Linked DNA regions of Homo sapiens: region 2 is linked to region 1. The links are contacts of gene promoters, found by promoter capture Hi-C in blood cells and fetal thymus (Javierre and others, 2016). All regions are on one chromosome and are shown on one strand. Each heading gives the region's core, a stretch centred on a gene start or on the middle of the fragment in contact. The rest is flanking DNA. Distances are from core to core; before and after follow the strand shown.

Region 1 (2,865 bases), core at 86-2,585:
CTGTTTGCTTAACTGAGTGATAGGGAAGAAACCTTCCAGGTGCAGGGAGAGAGATTCATAGAATTACTGCAGGAGAGGTTTTGGCCAAATTCTGAAAGAGGAATTTCCTTCCCAAATATGGAAAAGCATCCTATAATGGCCTGGAACTCAGAAGAGGTTCTAGCACACTTCCCCCGGTCGGGGGAAAGAGGGCATGGGTGGGGCTGGGGAGGGTGTCTCTTAGGCATCTCTCCTCGCGCTGTCCCGAGCCGCTGGCGCTGTCCGCGGTGCTGAAGCTCTGAGTCTGGCGCCGCCAAGGGCTGGCCTTGGAGGCGGTTACCAGAGAGGAAGGGGTCACAGAGCGAGGACTCTCCACTAGACCTGAGCCCTCTGTTGTATTCTGCCAACCCACAGCGTCACAGGAAGTACTCTGCCTCTCGGGCCTCCAAGCCCGGGTGGGGAAAGAGGGCGCCAGGCGGCGAGGCTGCGCCCCTTCCCCCACGCGCCACCCTCCCATCCCCCACCCCCTGTCCGTGAGTCAGCGCTGACTGTCTCTGTCCGCACAGATGTGAGTCAGCACCAGGCCTGGCTGTGGGGAGGGGGACAAGAGAGGACCCTCCCCTCTTCATCCTCTTCTGCCCCCTCCCCGTGCTGTCCCCCGTTACAGGAGATCAGATCGCTGCAATCAGCTTCTCTAGGCTTACGGAGAAACCCTGGCCTCTCTCTCTGCCCAGCTGGGACTCTATGTCTGCGGCCCAGGCTTCCACTGCCCAGAGATCACCGTTCCCTCATTCTCCCCGCCACCTCCCCTTCCCATTCCTCAGCGCCTGTCACCACCTCCCAGGCGCCTCGGAGCAAGTGGCTTCTCCTGTGGTCTCGCAGCCGGTCTCTAAGTCCCTCTGCCCACATGCACCCCGTGTCCTTCTCCCGAACCTGCAATTTTCCCCAGAGCCCAATTCTCTTAGGTCCCGCCCCCGTATTCCCAGCCCCACCTCCAGGCCTACGCCCCTTTCCTCCGAGACGCCCTCTCACCTTCCTCATCTCGCATGCCTCCCCCAACCCATATTCTCCCCGAGCTTCATGACATTTCACCCTCACCCCCACCGAGTTTCGCTCCAGGCCCCAAGCTGCTCCCCGCCCCCCACCACCCGCCAGCCCAAGTTTCCTCCTGACCGTGGGCACTAACGGCGCTGCAGCCCCCCGGGCGGCTGCTCAGCAGCAGGAGGCAGAGGAGCAGCCGGAGACCCCCGGATCCCCCGAGACCCCCAGGCCGCCGCGGGCGCCGCATCTTTCCGAGCTCCGGGCGCTCGCTCCCGGGCCGGAGCCGCAGCGACGCTGGCGGGAGCCTGCCAGAGGGGCTGAGGCGGGGCTTGCCGCTCCCCACCTCCCTACGAGGCGGGGTCTACATGCCCCTCTCGCTGCAACGCGGCCAACCGCAGGCGGGTGCTGACGACACCTCCACCCCCGGCTCGTAAGCTAATTTGCGTCACATATGGCGTAAGAGCCCTGTCGGAGCGGGGGACCTACCTAGCCCATCCCTCCTCCATCAAATAGTAGGCGCCTCGCTAGAATTCCCACTTGGCCCCATCCCTGTAGCCCTCTTCTAGGATCACCTCTGTCTCCCCGCCCCAGGGTGGGTGAAAAGGGTTAAGTTAAGTGGGGGGCCAGGAAAGATAGGTGGGTCCAGAACGATAAACCCGAAGACAAGAAGCAGAAAAGTGGGTAGAATAAGTACTCTTACTCATTGTCATTGAAGATACTGTTCTCTTCCTTAAGAAAAAATGGTTAGGCATGCCTAGATTCCAGTTCTAGCAGGGCATCTACTAAGGGTATGACCTTGGGCACCTTGTTTAACTTGTCTGCGTCCAAGTTTCCTGATCTGCAAAGTGGAGGTGTTAATAGTTACTACCCGCCTCACACAGTGATTGTGAAGATTTTGTTCGTTACACTAATATGGATCACTTAGAAGGATGACTGGACTGGTGCATACTACATGCTCCATACATATTAGCTGTCATCATTAGCTTTTATTTATTTTTTATTGAGATGGAGTCTTGCTCTGTTGGCCAGGCTGGATACTGGCGTGATCTTGGCTCACTGCAATGTCCACCTTCTGGGTTCAAGCCATTCTCCTGCCTCAGCCTCCCTAGTAGCTGGAATTACAGGCGCACAGCACCTTGCCCGGCTAATTTTTGCATTTTTATTGGAGATGGGATTTCACCTTGTTGGCCAGGATGGTCTTGAACTCTTGACCTCAGGTGATCCAACGGCCTTCGCCTCCCAAAATGCTGGGATTACAGGTGTGAGCTACCGGGCCTGGCCTCATCATTAGCTTTGACTCTCCTTTCTCTCCGTCTGTGCCACCTCGAGGCTATCAATCATTTTATGGTTTCTCCCTGCAAAATACATCTCCCATCAGTCCACTTCTGTCCATCCTCACTACCTGAACTGAAACACTGTGCTCTTTCACCACGACCACTGCAGCAATCAGCTAGTAACTGCTCTTTTGCTTCCACTCTAGTCATCCAATAAGTAGGGGAGTGAGCTTCTTAAGTTCAGATTTGATCTCCTTCCTCTCTTGCTTTCCAGTAAAATAAAATAAAATTTAAAAAGGACAGAAATGCATAATGAATACTTACATACTCATCATCCATACTTAATGGTTATTGATGTTTTACAATATTTGCTTCTTTTTAGTATTTAAACATGAATGATAGACATCATGACATTTCTCTTCTAAATATTTCATTATGCATCTCCAAGAAATAAGGACATTTTCCTGCATAACCTAAGTGCTGTTATGACACCTAAAAAAATTTACAATAATTCCTTAATATAATTTTTTAAATTTTTTTTTTTATTTTTTTGAGAAGGAGTCTTGCGCTC
Region 2 (2,729 bases), core at 11-2,510, 140 kb before region 1:
TTAGCGAGAGACGGCAGGCATTGTGGCACAGAAGGTATGCAGGGCTCCAGGAGGCAACGGGAGGTCAGTCCAAGGTCAGGCGGCCCAGGTGTAGGGATGCAGGACAGCCCCAAAGACTGATGTATTACGGCCACCGATGCCACAGCCAGGGCCACACTGCTCACATATGCCACAGCTAACAGGCAAGACAGCTGCAGGAGAGGAGATAAGAAAGAAGGAATCTGTCTTTAACACATTCACCCCTTGTCTCTAGAAATCTGTGTTCCAGTTGGAGGTCTCTATAGCCATTTACACCCCACTCTGCCCATCTATTCCCAACCCCATCTCCTGGGCTTTTCAGCAATCACTTCACACCATCCCACCCTACACACCGGCCTGCTCAAGCTCCCTATCCTTCCGAGCCCCTCCTCACCTTTACCAGCCGCTGGCAGAGGGAGCCCAGGGCCAACTGCCAGGTCGGCTGCTCCAGCAGCACACACAGGTCTGTGTAGGTGTACCAGCCTCGCCACCGTCCCTGCTGCTCAGCCACACTGGGGGAAGTGGAGAAATGACAAGAGTATGCAACTGTCCTGCAGCCAGCCCAGTGGCACCCTCATACCACTCAGGACCCACCAGGAAACACTGGGAAGCCTGTTAAACCCAGATTCCTAGGCTATCTGCTGATCTAGAAACTAAGGGTGAGACCAAGACCTATATTTTATTTATTTTTATTTATTTATTTTGTTAAGACAGGATCTTGCTGTCTCCCAGGCTGGAGTGCAGTAGTGCAATCATAGCTCACTGCAGACTCAACATCCTGGACTCAAATGATCCTCTTGTCTCAGCCTCCTGAGTAGCTGGGATTATGGGTGTACACCACTGCATCTGGCTAGTATTTTTTTCTGGTAGGGTCAGGCATCTTGCTATATTGCCCAGGCTGGTCTCGAACTCCTGGACCCAAGTAATCCTCCAGCCTCACCCTCCCAGAGTGCTAGGATTATAGACATAACTACCATACCCACCCAATACATGTATTTTAAATAAGCTGCTTCTCACCTTCCCAAAGGTGATGAAGAAGAGGACAGATGGGTCTGGGAACCACTATCTGGGCAATTCTCTTTCTTGTCTCCTCCCTCCCCCAGTTACACAGACTCTCATCTCTAGCTCCTATGGCTGAGGACTCAGCCCCCAAATCCCTCGAGCCCTTCTTCCCAACTCCTAGAACCTACCAGCTCTCCAACCAGCTCAGCACCTCAAAGATCTCCCGAGGGTCAGTGTAGAGATGCCAATCCTGTGAGTACGGAGAGTGGACATCAAACCAGACTTGGATGAGCCACAGTCATTTAATAATAAGAGCCATAGCAGCAACTACAACCGCCCCTATGGCTAATGCATATTTGGCACTTACCATGTGCCAGATACTGTCTCAAAAGTTTTTACACATTAACTCATTGAATCACCACCTGCCTGGTTTCACATTATACTCTCCACTAAGCAAGAGGGGAGAAAATGACCCTGAGAATGGTCTGTGTCCACAGGGAGCTAAACATCTAGGGGCAGAGAAAGTATGGACACAAATATTCAGAACCCAATAGGATAAACTCTGACTCAGAGTGTACCCTGTGGGGCCCTGGAGGAATAGAGGAGGCGAGGAAATGTTCTGCTCTTGGCCTTACTGCTCTACGAATCTCCAAAAACTGGTTAGTACTGAAGAGATAGGAAAGGAAGACACTAACACAAAGGCAGGAGGAGGACAGGAAGAGAAATGACGAACCAACAGAAGACTGAGAGAGAACAAAGGACTAAAGGACGGTTAAAGATGGGCCAGGGAAACTGAGCAAGAGAGAGAACAGCTGCTCACCATGGCACTCAGGAAGCCCCTCTCCAAGGCATTGAGAGTGGGCACGGCCACACCCCCAGCAGCTCCCCATTCGTCGTTGAAGACCTCCTCCTCCTCCCCTTCATCATAGAGGTACTTACTGGCCACCATCTGCAGAGGAACCAGAAGTGGTGGAGCAGAGCTCATAGCAGGCTCTTGGCTCTTTAGGGAGATGGGGAGGGGGTGTCTTACCATGGAGATCAGGAACAAGTCAGAGGATGACACATGCTGCAAGTAGTCTGGGTTTCGGTGCCGGAGCCGTTCAATGTACACCAGAGCCAGCATCATAGCACATGGGGAGATGCATGCCTCCCTGGGTGGTAGAAAGGATCACTAATTAAACCCAAGGGTCCTTCAGCTCTTGCAAGTCTTATGATGCTCGTTCCTGTCTTTACCTCTTATCTTTGGAAAAAAACTATTCCTGGCTGGGCACGGTGGCTCATGTCTGTAATCCCAGCACTTTGGAAGACCAAGGTGGGTGGACTGACACCAGGAGTTTGACACCAGCCTGGCCAACATGGTGAAACCCCGTCTTTACTAAAAATACAAAAATTAGCCAGGGGCGGTGGTGTGTGCCTGTAGTCCCAGCTACTGGGGAGGCTGAGGCACAAGAATCACTGGAACCCAGGAGGCGGAGGTTGCGGTGAGCCGAGATTGTGCCACTGCACTCCAGCCTGGGTGACAAAGTGAGACTGTCTCAAAAAAAAAAAAAAGAAAGAAAGAAAAGAAAGAAAAGACGATTCCCCTTTCTCTAGGGCCCAAACACTCTCATCCTATCCTCATTTCCAGGCTCACCGGGACACATGAGCTACATATTTCTTCTGGAGTCGGCGAATAGGGCTGGGGGCTGCCTTCTGGAGCAGTTCGACAG

What was found. Contacts are between HindIII fragments. The CHiCAGO score rates a contact against its expected background, and 5 or more counts as called.
Region 2: a fragment that was not itself captured here is called in contact with the fragment with the promoter of PTPRN in region 1 in 2 of 17 cell types (M0 macrophages and fetal thymus); the score reaches 5.9 in M0 macrophages.

Annotation. Positions count from the first base shown.
Region 1 is chr2:219,308,066-219,310,930 of GRCh38, forward strand. It overlaps PTPRN (protein tyrosine phosphatase receptor type N), which reads right to left and starts at 1,336. Exons shown (of 23, transcript NM_002846.4): 1 at 1,153-1,336. The coding sequence starts at 1,267. The HindIII fragment of the contact is 26,349 bases long and covers 1-2,865 here.
Region 2 is chr2:219,172,938-219,175,666 of GRCh38, forward strand. CNPPD1 (cyclin Pas1/PHO80 domain containing 1) reads right to left here. Exons shown (of 8, transcript NM_015680.6): 3 at 2,654-2,729; 4 at 2,051-2,171; 5 at 1,841-1,969; 6 at 1,209-1,270; 7 at 413-530; 8 at 1-191. Among named protein-coding and RNA genes, the nearest start is that of CNPPD1, 2.6 kb to the right of the region's middle. The HindIII fragment of the contact is 3,353 bases long and covers 1-2,729 here.